2 separate regions of the Homo sapiens genome follow, and region 1 is linked to region 2. The links are contacts of gene promoters, found by promoter capture Hi-C in human tissues and cell types (Jung and others, 2019). All regions are on one chromosome and are shown on one strand. The core of a region is centred on a gene start or on the middle of the fragment in contact, and the rest is flanking DNA. Distances in the headings are between cores, read along the strand shown.

Evidence for each region. Contacts are between HindIII fragments. The study calls those that stand out against the background at their distance.
Region 1: a contact is called between a fragment that was not itself captured here and the fragment with the promoter of RORA in region 2, in 2 of the 25 tissues and cell types used here (heart right ventricle and pancreas).

What each region holds. Positions count from the first base shown.
Region 1 is chr15:61,384,933-61,391,163 of GRCh38, forward strand. No RefSeq gene overlaps it. Among named protein-coding and RNA genes, the nearest start is that of RORA, 160 kb to the left of the region's middle. The HindIII fragment of the contact is 4,527 bases long and covers 1-3,757 here.
Region 2 is chr15:61,227,897-61,234,130 of GRCh38, forward strand. RORA (RAR related orphan receptor A) reads right to left here and starts at 1,406. Exons shown (of 11, transcript NM_134261.3): 1 at 1,157-1,406. The coding sequence starts at 1,322. The HindIII fragment of the contact is 14,135 bases long and covers 1-6,234 here.

The DNA.
Region 1 (6,231 bases), core at 244-2,743, 160 kb after region 2:
AGTCAAATTTATTATTTTATGTTTATTTATATTATTCGATTAATGTCTGAATCCCCCCGGACTGTAAGCTCTGTGCAGAGAAGGATCATTCCTATATTTTATTCACTGTAGTGTCCTCATTACTTGTTGTCAATAAACCTGGGTTGTATGCTGAATAAATAGACAGGGTGGGAAACATTATCCCAGTTTTACAGATAAGAAAATTGAGGCTTACAGATGATAAGTGAGTTTTCAAGGTCATAGAGCTACCAAGAGGCAGTGCCAGGTCTCACATTCAGGTTTCCCAAATGTACAAGTTTCTTTCCATGAAGGTTGTTCCTTTGAGTTCAGGACGGACTAGAAAGGTCTGCCTAAGGGGAACCGTATATAGTAGGAGAGTCTGGAGGATGGTTTATTCTCGGAAGGGTGTTATGTCTGTAAACTAAACAAAGGAACTAAAAGAAAAACAGACAAGAAGAAAAGACCATGGAACCAGATGGTAGATCCAAATGAGAGGTGGGGCAAGGGAGGGCTTACATGGGAGATGGGCAGCAGACTTGGTGGCCAGGAGGATTGGGTAGAATGAGGATTGAAGAGTAGGTGTAAAAGAGGTTAAGAGATTGAGAACCTGACCCTCAAAGACTGGTCTCTGGGCACTTGTTTTCAGAACAGAGGCATCTCCTTAGGAAAATAAAAGCTACTTATAATAATAAAAGTAATGATAATGGTCATTTATTAGATACCCTGTGTGTGTGTAGCCTTGTGTTAGATGCTCTACCAATGTAAATTTAGTTGGTCCTCTAAGCAGACTGGGGAAGACGCTAGAACCCTGGCTTGTCCTTTTCTTCTATTTGTTTTCACCATTCTAGTTATTAAGTATGTAAAGTGTTTCTCACTTCTTGTGTTTTTCTCACTTCTTGTGTTTCTCTCACTTCTACTTTGTCTCCTAGTCCCTACCCTCCCTCCCATCCTTTTTACAGCCAGGGGTTGGGCCTCTGATACCCTCCATGAAATTCCACTAGGTCTGTCTGTCTTTCTCCACCCTCTTTCTATTAAATTAATTGCCATTAAGGTTTAAATGACTAGCAGATTCTTACTCGATTCTGATTCTTATCTCTCCCAAGGACAAATGTATAATAATATTCTTAGAGAAATATTTAAAGTATTCTTCTAACCAAGTAAATGGATCTTTAATGATACTACTTAAGGCAGAGATGCAAGATATTTTTGAAGGGTGAAAAGATTTACTAGACATTTGAAATTACATCCATACCTGGGTCTCCACTAATTCCACCTTTGGAAGATTAATTCATTCTAGGTGTTCTAATCCTCCCCATCCCTTTTCCCACCTCTATGTTAAAATTCTATGACTTCACATGCCCCGTGGCCAGATAGAAACAACTTCTTTGTATATCGATAGCAATTCTCTCCACTGTCAACTACATCTCCCTGCACCCATGGGATCCCTGGGAAATGAGAAAGCTCAGCTGTCTCCAGGGTGTGGTGAATTAGGGCAGTTGTTCTGTTCCCTTTTCTACTGTAGAATGATTGGGATAATTGGGAGAAAGGTGGTTAGATGGGACTCACTTTTTGAATTTGTGTTATACACACAGCCAAGAGCTGTTAGAGATCTTCTGACAGTAATGACTAGTCAGTTTCTAGTTCTTTGAAGGTGCATTTGGGGTTGGCATGTGACATGGGGGGCTTTTTCTCCAGCCACAGTTGAGCCTTTAGGAGCTCCATGAAGAGTTTAAAGAAGTTCTCCAGGATCTGTTTCCATCTCCTGTAGAAATCTTTTCATTCTCATACGGACTGGGGTTCCTGGTTTCTGACCTGTTACTTCAACCCTAGATTCTGCCTCCTGGCTCATATCCCACATATAAACATTTCAGTTGAACTGTCTACTTGGCTTCTGATTTTGATTTCACTAATGAAGGTCGCCTCTTGGGCCATCTTCTTTTGTATTCCCTATAGACCCAAAGATAAGTCTCCCTATACCCTCTGCCCATTACAAGCTTCTGGGATTCTACTGTTCTGTGCTCCCACTTACCTGAGAGGAGAATTTTGATATGACTATTAAATGCCTTGCTTTGCCCTCAGACCACAATTAAGAATTGTTTAGCCAAGTGATTTTAACAAAGGTTACAATGAGAATGCTGCTTAAGCCATTATCTTATGGGTACTTCTTGCTCAGCCTTTCTTCATAGACAAATGAGAATTCAGAACTTGTATCCCAGGGCTTCGGCTGAATATGGGGATGTGGTGCAATGAGCCCCCTGAACTCGGGATAAAGGTGAATACCATGAGACAGAGTGTGTCCAGCAGCAATCAAAGTAAAAAAGCCAAGCTGTTTGGATGATCAAGACGAAAGTCTGCATGGCTTGGCCAAGGAGAAGAATCCAGGTACTAAATGATGGAACCAGAGGGTACCTTGTCAGAGAAGAAGAGACTGGAGACCAACCTTGAGTTTGCTGAAGGAATCTCTAGCCACTTTTTACAGGGTGCCTGTAGCCTCAGTTATAGATGTACAGACAGCTGAGTTAAGGGGCCAAACTGGTGTAAATAGATATGTAGTAAACAGATTTATACATTGTAGCTTTTCAACTCTGGTTCTTATTAGAAAAGTTCTTATTAGGTACCCAGTATGAGTGTATCAGTCAGTGACTGCTGTGTAATAAACCAACTCAATGCTCAGTGGTTTAACACAATTTGTTTTATAAATTTATAGGTAACATTATTATAACCCATGTTTCTAGGGGTTTGTTGCAAATTGGCTAATGTAGGCTGGGCTCATCTGGGTGGCTCTGGTCATCCTTGTTGGGCATACTCATGTGTCTGTGGATTGGCTGGGACAGGAAAGTGGTAGAGCCTCTGCTCTAAGCTAAGGCAACTTTGTTAGGAAAGCTCCACTCTTCAACTTAGTTAAGAAAGCTCCTCCTGAGAATAGCAAGCTAGGCCAGCATGTTCTCACAGTGATGCCAGAGGAGCAAGAGCAGAGCAGAAACACATAAGGTCTCTTGAGGCCTCTTCTAGGAACTGGCATAATGTTACAATCTGCTGCATTCTCTTGTCCAAGGTATACTTTGTGATCAAACCCAAATCAAAAGTCAAGGGAGTACATTCTGCTCACAGTGAGAAAGCACTGTAAAGATAAATAGCAAAGAGGGTAGAGGCAGGAAGGGGAAATAACTGAAGAAAATAACTCATTCCATAAAGTGTGCTAGGCACTCATTGAAGAATGGTATGCTCTTAGATGCTTTATCATCATATGTACAATGGGTAAGTATTTTGATCCTGATTCTATAGAGCTCAAAATGTTTACAACAGTCATTAAGGTAACACGTCAATTAAGTGGTAAACAAATTTCAACCCAGCTTCTTATGGTTCTAAATTTGAGATCTTTCCAATATGGGATAAGAATTCACCAACTTATCTGCCTCCATTCCAGTTAATTTTTATACAGAGCATACATACAAACACCTACGTTATATGTGACACTTTAACAATTCAACAAATAAAATTAAAATAAAAATGAAAGTTAAAAACAATCCTTATTTTATTGTATGTTCTTCCTATTTGCCAGTATATTAGTCTGTTCTCACACTGCTGACAAAGACATATCTGAGACTGGGTAATTTACAAAGAAAAAGAGGTTTAATGGACTCATGGTTCCATGTGGCTGGGGAGGCCTCACAATCATGGTGGAAGGCAAAAGGCACATCTTCCATGGCAGCAGGCAAAAAGAGAATGAGAACCAAGTGAAAGGGGTTTCCCCTTATAAAACCATCAGATCTTGTGAGACTTATTCACTACCACGAGAAAAGTATGGGGGAAACCACCCCCATGATTCAATTATCTCCCACCAGCTCCCTCCCACAACACATGGGAATTATGAGAGCTACAATTCAAGATGAGATTTGGGTGGGGACACAGCCAAACTATATCAGCCAGCAATCTTCCTGAGTCTGTTAAAATTTTTTGTCACTTATTCTTTGCCCTTATAATATTCTAGAAAGTTTAACATTCTGTATTAATAATTGTTCCTGCCATTTATACATATAGAGTTGGTATTTAATATATTATAACATCGAGCTCATTAGTAAGGCAATTCTTTCACGTCATGAACAAGCATTCCATTACTTAAAACAAAAAATTCTAACACCTTAGCACTAAGTATAGCAATTTGCTTTTGTGATGTCCCTTTAAAACATGTTCGGAGGGTTTATTTAAAGTTCTTGTGCCAGAGTCAGGCCTGTGAAATGTGTGATGACTATGGTGGACTCAGAGAAATGAAGGCCTGAATCATCATGCTGGGGCCTCAAAGGGATTATTCCTATAGGCAAATGAGCTTTATTTTATACAGATTCAAAAAAAAAAAAATGTAGGTTCTCATGACTATGCCCCAATATCACTGTTGGAAAGGGATCTTGCTAGTTCTCAATTGCTTAACAGACATCTGCTGAGAAGCAACACGATGAGGAATCTTCACGGCCCCCATCTCACCATGTCAAGAAACTACGAAGAATCGCTGCTGACCAGGCCCCCAGCTAGTCTGTGAATTCTTCCCAGGTGAGAATTAGTACCACACCCATCAGTTACAGCAAGCCTGATCTCTGTCCTCTCCATCAGCCTGTTTTAAAGCCTAAGACCAGGACAAATCCATTCTCACTTTTGAAAAGGGGAGAATTATTTATACAATGACATTCTGTGGGTGGTTTGTGAAGAAGGCAATACAAAGAAGAGAATATGTCTCTTCTATGTCTTTGTCAGCAAACTGAACTAAGAGTCAAGAGACGTGGGATCTGGTTCTGGTTTAACTACTAACCAGCAGTGAAACCTTGTGTGCACTACAACCCCTTCTTTAGCCTTAGGTTTCTCATCTGCCAAGTTTGAGAATAAAAAGTCAACATTTTAGAACCAGACAGTCCTAGGTTCCAGCTCCACATCAACAGAGAGCTGGTAGTTCTTGGTCATATTACTTAAGCTCTTAGATCCTGAATTGTCTCATCTATTTAACAGAGATAATGATCGCTACTTTCCTTTCCCTGGAGGGCTGAGAAAAACTGTTGGTGCTCAATAACTGTAAATTTGCTCCTCCACTTTGATCACTCTCTAGCTGTACTGTTGTGGAATTCCAAAAACTAGACTATTGATGATTTGAACAATTCTTTTTTTCTGTGAGATATGCCCTCCTAATAAGTTGCTGATAATAACACATCACTATACAGCTCTTTTCAAGACATTTTTCTGTCATACTCCATTCTATCAAAGTGACAAAAGACTTACATTCTTATTGTCTTATTTCCCATAGAAATAGTCTCAAACCAATGGGAGAATAATGGAAATTTTTTCAGTCCTGTGATCCCTCTACAGGTTCTTCCTATGCTTACATTCTCATGAAATTGCACAAGATCACACACAGCAGGTTTCACAGTCATGAAACTAAAAGCCACATTAAACCACAATGTGATGTCAGTCTTGTCTACCACTCACCATCTCACCTCAAAAACAAGTAGGAAAGGTCACATTTGGAGAAGAAAGCTTTATCTTCCTTTTTCCTCTAGTTATTAAGTTTACTGAAAGTTTTAGGGGAAAGGATTATTTTTTATTTTAATTCTGAAAAATGAAATACATTTAAGGGGTTTGGTTTGCCTGACTTCCCTTCTATCTCTCTGGATCCCAGTGGTTTGGGGAGCTATGGCAGAGAGGCACATGTGAGAGCACATACATCAGCCTGAATATACACTGAATATACACCAGTCTGACTGGCAGGTTCATTAACCAGTTATCTTTAACATTGTGCAGCTTCCTTTGAGTTAACCAATTCAGAAAGTTATTGATCAGTGGTCTGTAATACACGGCAGACCATATAGAGATTTTAAATATGTTGTCTTGCTTGATTCTTAGATCTGCAGAGCAATGATGGTGAGAGAGGAAATGAACAGACATTTGATTCTTATAACTTAATAATTTCCATATATGTATTATGGTTGTTTCATTGAGACCTTTACTGCATGTCAGGTCCCATGCTAAGATCTTTGCTTTCATTATCTCTTTTAATGCTTCCATGATGTAAGTTGCTATCACTCCCATTCAGAGACAAAGTCTTTCAAAGGTTATCCAGCCAATAATTTGTCAAACCACTCTTGTCTGACACTAGAGATAAAGGGTCTATGAAAGAAAGCATTAGGTCCAGGGAACCCCCTCATATTATAGAAAGTAAATACTGGAGGTGAGAATTGCGCCCTTTAA
Region 2 (6,234 bases), core at 156-2,655:
GCGCATTCAAATAAATAATCCCCCACTCTCGAGAAAAACACACATCAGGTTCCAATACCTTCAAGAAAGAGTGAGCTTTCCTCAACAGCTCACTTTAGGAAAGGAGGGAGCAACTGAGTCCCCCCCATCCCCCCCAACACACGCAGACACAGACCAAACACCAAAATGAAGAGTAAAAATCGCCAGGGGAGGAGAAAACATTGCTTGCACTATCCAACCAGCATACAACTTGCACTGACCATCCCCAGGTTCCTGCAGAAATGCTTGGAACCTCCGAGAGGGAAGGATTCCCAGAGCAGAAATAAGTTTCGGTGCTTGCTTTTGTAGACGCTCCCTCCGGATGCGCGTGGAGCGCCCCACAGGACCGCCGCCCTCTGCGCGTTGGCGCGCACACGCCCCCCGCCAGCCTGGGCGCCGGGCTCCGAACCCCCGGTCTGCAAACTTGCGCATCTCCCCTCGCCGCGCCCGCCAGACAACTTGGCGAACAGCTCGCCCGCCCGCACCCCGCTTCCTTCGGCCCTTCCTTCAAATCCCAAACGCACCGCCGTGCTCCAAAGAAGGTGTCCACGTCGCCCCCAGACCCCGGAGCGCCCCCTCTCCACCCCCGGGACTTCCCAGGTCGCTCACTCCTCCCGCCCCCCGCCCAGATCTGAGAGGGACCGAAAACACACCCCCGACTCGGGCAGCCAGGGCCGAAACTGTCAAGAGGAGAAAAGGTAAAGCGGAAGGAGGGTGGCCATAAACAGATTTTTTTGCCCCTTCTTAAAAGGACACTGCCGCTTTAAAAGTTTCTTTCCCGGGCCCCCACTCCCCGCATCTCCGTATTTTGGGGGAGCGTATTTAATTGAGGCAACGCAGCTTTCCTCCAGTGTTTGCAGAAAAATCAAAGCCAGGGGGGTGAGCCCGCCGGCTGTCAACCTTCCCGCCGCCTCCCCCGCCCCACTCTGCTCCCGCAAGCCGAGAACGGGCTGCAAAAGTTTGCAACATTTCTGGGGGGCGGAGGGGGGAGGGGAGGGGGGTCCTCCGGGCTCGGGGCGCCGCCGCAGGCTCGCGCGCGGCCGCCGGACCCCGCGCCCCGGGCGCCCGCTCCCGGCCGCCCCCCGCTCCGCGCCCGGGCTCCCGCCGCCCCCTCCCCAGCCCCTCTCCAGCCTCCTACCTCTGCTGGTGCTGGAATAGCTCTGTCTGCGCACCGGGGCAGGCGGCTCGCTCTTGCGGGCGGATTCCTGGTTCAGCGGGGTCTCCCTGGAGCCGGCGGCCGCGTCCGCGCCGCTGCTGCCTGGCTCGCTGGCGGCGGGGTCGGGGGCTGCCGGAGCTGACTCCATGTTTTTTCCCAATGTAGAGATCGCTGGAGATGGCGAGCTCCGAGACTCCCTCTATCTTCTGTTTTCAGAGCAACTCTATGGTACCAAAAAAAAAAAAAAAAAAAAAAAAAAAAAAAAAAAAAAAAAAAGAAGGAGAAGGCGACCGGCGAAAGCAGGAGGGAAAAAGCAGGCGGCGGCGGGCGGGCAAGCAAAAGCGCGAGGGAGCGCGCGGAGTGTCTGGGTGGACGTGTGTGTGCGCCCGAAAGGGGACAAGAGGCGGGTCTGGCCACAGGCAGCGCTAGCGAGAGCTTCTCCAGCCGGCCCCCACACCCACATTCCCCACCCTCCAGACCCCAGACCGAGAGCCACAGACTGGCTGCCAATTTTGGGAGGTGGGGAAAAGAGGGGAGGAGGAGAACAGAGCCTCCCGCGCCCCAATCCTCCCCTCTCCCCAGCCCAGGGACAGAAATTAAAATCGGTGAGATGATTCCGTGCCTACTTCTGAGACTCTCTCGGGAACAGAACTCGTCCCCATCCGCTGCCAGCTTGGGTAGAGACAAATCCGATTGTCCACGTCCACGTTGGGAAATCGCAGGTAGCCCCCTGCCAGCCCTGCCGAGGGCTGAGGAGAAACTAAAAAGGAATTAGAACGGGGCTGACATCCCAAGGAAGGCGGAGGATGGGAGGACGTGGCACTTTTTACTTTGGGATGGGACGGCCAGTGGGTTTCCAATCTTGGTTAAAGACATCTGTGTCTAAAACAGATTTTGTGAATCTAGAAGCGCCATGGACAGTTTCTGGCATGGTTGAAAGAGGTCGCTTTCAGCTCCTTTGCTGTTTGTCCGCGAAGGATCCAGAAACCATTTGGCAGGGCATTTTCTACTGAAGAAAACTTTGGCCTGTTTGGTCGACAACTATCTAAGCTGGATAAAACATGCCACGCTGCATCTAGCTCAAGCGTGGCTGCTAATTGTCAATTCCCACTGGTACTTTTCCTATTAAATGTACAGTCTCATCCATAAAAGGTAGATATACTGGAGAGGCATTACTAATGCCCGGATAACATTCAGATAATTAACAGCTCCTAATAATTCGTATTATTATAGGCATCATTCTACACCCTCCTCCCATTGAAATACATTCATCCCCTAGTAGGTACCTAAAACTCCAGGAAAGCAGATAATTGCATCATCGTTACCTTGACTGCAAACTCCAAGATGAAGGAACAATACAAATTGAAAGAATGGAAAATACTCCAATGGTAGTAGCCTGATTTGTCTGCCTTCATACTCAATCTACCACTTTCTTTTGCCTGCGAAGACACTGTGGAAATACGCCCCACCTTCCTTTCAAAAGGATCCAAAATTTTGACAATAAATAATATTATTAGAGGCCAGAAGGTGGCATAAATATATGTGCTTCAGAACGTGGGGTAGGCGGAGGGAATTGGGGGACATTTTTCTTTTGCTAACTTCCTGGTTTGGAAAAATGCTTTAAAAAATAGTAAGTGCGGGAAACCCAGTTAGCTAATCCTTCAGAGGAACCGCCATATGCCAAATTTCACACATAGTTTCTGTTACTGTTACTGATCTTGATCTTATTTCAAATACACAATGCCCTTTGCCATAGTCTGTGTACTAATCAGCAAAACCTGTGGTCCACTCTTCGGGGTGATGTAAATGAGATGTGAACAGTCCTGATACCTTAATCCTGTCTCTGCAAGGATCCCTGGCTTTAGCCTGTCTGTTGGCGCCTACAAACAATGCACAATTGTCTCCTCCATCCCAAATCAGACGTGTGGGTTTCCCCATACGTGAAAGCACAGATTTCCAGAGTAGCCTTCACAACATTTACCATTGGTTAGCCTGTTAGTAATGTTCTTGATGCAATTGACCTAGCTTGTTACACTTGACTTTTCTAAGGAAACAAATATATCAAAGTGTACAGTTTAAGAAACAACTTCCTCTGGGACAGTGAGCATCTCAGAATACATTGGCTGCCTCATGTTTATTTTAGAATACTTTAAAAAATACTCGTCACATTAAATTTCACCAGTAATTCTATCTGGGACGCAAGTGACTTAAAAAGTATCCCTGGTTTCCTTTTAGGTACCAGTAGCAACTTGTTAACATTTTTTATTAAGTCTGTTCCCCTTGGACCTTTAATGAGTTTCTTACTGTTCTCCTTTAACTAAGGTGATGTTTAGTCACCCTGAAAAGACCATCTAGAAAATAGTCATAATGACCTGAATCAATTAAAATAGACTCTATATTCCCTTCAGAAAAAGATCGCAGCTCCAAAAAGCCATTTCTCCTAACTCTCTAAGACAATTACTGCTTCTGCAATTTAAAACAATTGGGAACTCAAGTGCTTTCCCCAAGGGAAAAAATAAAAGTGAGTTAGATACATTCCTTGACTGTCAATCACTGTGACTAAAGTGTAAATTACCTGGATTGGGGAAGCATTTGAAACCTGAAAAGCACAGTGATTAGGTTTATATTTCTTTCCTTCCGTCATGCTCCCTTTCGGATTACTAATTAAGGCTTTCCAATTTTCCAAATATTTGAAGAGATGGGAGCCTTCCTTAGACTCTGCTCATTGACAAAGGGCAACAGTGTTTGCTTAAAAATGGTTATTTTACTTTGCACCGAGTTCCCTGAAAATGGCTTAGAAAAGCTATGCTTGTGGAAGAGATCAGCCTAATTTCAGTTTTTTTGTAACTCCTCTTTGCAACACCACAGCCATCGCCCCCTACCTCCTTGCCAATCCCAGGCTCCTCTCCTGATGGTAACATTACTTTTCTCCTACTCTAAGGTAATTACTGGGAACCTCAAAGTTAACTTTGACTCCTCTCTTTTGCTCCTGCCCCTAGTTCTCCACATCCTAACATGCTTGCCAAGTGCTACAAATTCTACCTACATGACATATGCCCCTCCTTTCTGCAGCCATCCATGCAGTTCCAGACATTATTGCTCACCTAAACCATCTCAGTAACCTCTTAAATAACTGGCCTTCAGTCTTATAACCATTCTAATCCATTCCAGATAGTACTGCCAAGTTAATTACCCTGAACTACAGCTCTCATTTCCCACCATGTCACTCCCCTACTTACAAGACTTTAATGGCTCCCCATTGCCCATGCAATTAACAACTAACTAGTCAACGCGGTATTGAAGGCTCTATCTCCCTATCTCTGCACTCCTATACCAAGGATGGCAAGTCGATCTCGTCATGTGGAAAGGTGTGGGCTGTGATTGATTTATGTTATCTCCCATGGGTGGAGGATAGGGAGTGTGACACTCCTGGCAGGAGTTTGTCAAACTGTCTTACATCCTTATGTAATCTCCACAATCCATGTGCAGTACTCAGGCCAGGCCACATGCTGCTGCCTGCTCCCCCTCCTACTTCTAGTCCATGATACATAGATAGTTGCCTCTGCCTCTTCTCCCTAAAGGCCCTCCCTGCCTTCTCTGTTTACTGAAATCTACCTTCCTTTCAAAGTTAATTCTAAATGACAGCTCCTCTGTGGAGCCTTCCCTGATTTACCCCAAACCAAATATTTTAACTATCTTAGTGCTGTGCACCCCTCCTAAGGCATTTGGTCTGCTCAATCTACCTTGTATTGTGGTTGTTTGAACATTTGCTTTTTCCTCCCTGGTGGAAGACATGCTCCTTAAAAACAGGGACTGTGCCTTTGCACATAGTAGGCATTCATTACAGTTACTGGATTTGGGAAATGCAGTTGATGAAGTCATCAAAAAGTAGCATGTCCACACGGTAATTCCATTATCCAACAAGAATGAAAACCTAAGCATTTCAACTTTCAATCACTTGAAATAAGCCTTTCCTTCTTGGATAAAAGATTCATCAGCATGTATGTGCTGTTAAAATTTATATATGCAAAAAAAGTTGACAGTTATTTTCTTGCATTTCTTGAGAGGGAGAGAAGGGAAATGATGGAAATATACAGTAGAATTTCCTTGGGAGTATGGAGCTTTCTACAACATGCACAAGAACAAAGAAGACAGAAAATTAAAACTGAGTGCCCAGACAACAAGTTTTCCTTCTTTCAAGAAAGCATCCAGAAGCTGAAGCTGGGCTATGTGCAGAAAATAGAAGACACACCAATGAAAATGCAGCACTGCTCTTGGGCATGGGAGGGGCTCCATCTCACTGCTTGTCATTAAGTTGTCCCCCAGCTGGTAAAGTCCAGGGTAAGAAGCAGCCAGAGAATCAGTGATGTGAACCTGATGTCCTCCTGGGTGGTAACAGGAGAGCCAGACTTGCCAGACATGAGGAAATAAAGACGAAGATTGAAACATGCAGTGTCCACCCTGGATGATCCACTCCACCCATGCCCATTTTATAGGTGAGGAAATGAAAATATAGAGAAGAAAAGTGACTCGCCCAAGGCCACACAACTAATCGGTGGCATGATGTGACTGACGGCTTCAGACTGCCTGAAGTCAACGCCCAACTCTGCCACGTGCTGGCAATGTGGCCAAGGGAAAGTCACTAACCATTTCTATGCCTATATTTCCTCATCCATAGATGAACATTGTTGGGGTTAGATGAGATGATCCTTCTGAAATCTTGGCACTCAAAATTCTGCTCTTATCATTATGCATCTTACAAGTTGTTATAAACTTCTGTATAAAACAGCACCGTCCAATACTAGTCATTAGCCAAATGTGTCTATTGATTTCTTAAAATATGGTGAGTTCAAATTGAGATGTGTGATAACTGTTAAAATCCACATTGAATTTCAAAGACTTAGTACAAAAATGTAACGTGTCTCATTAATACTTTTTTATTGATTGCATGTCAAAATGATCAGAGTTTGGATATATTGGGTTAAGTGAGATATTTAAATTTATTTCATCTCTTTTAACTTTTTAAAATCTGACTACTAGAAAATTTAAAATTACTGTGT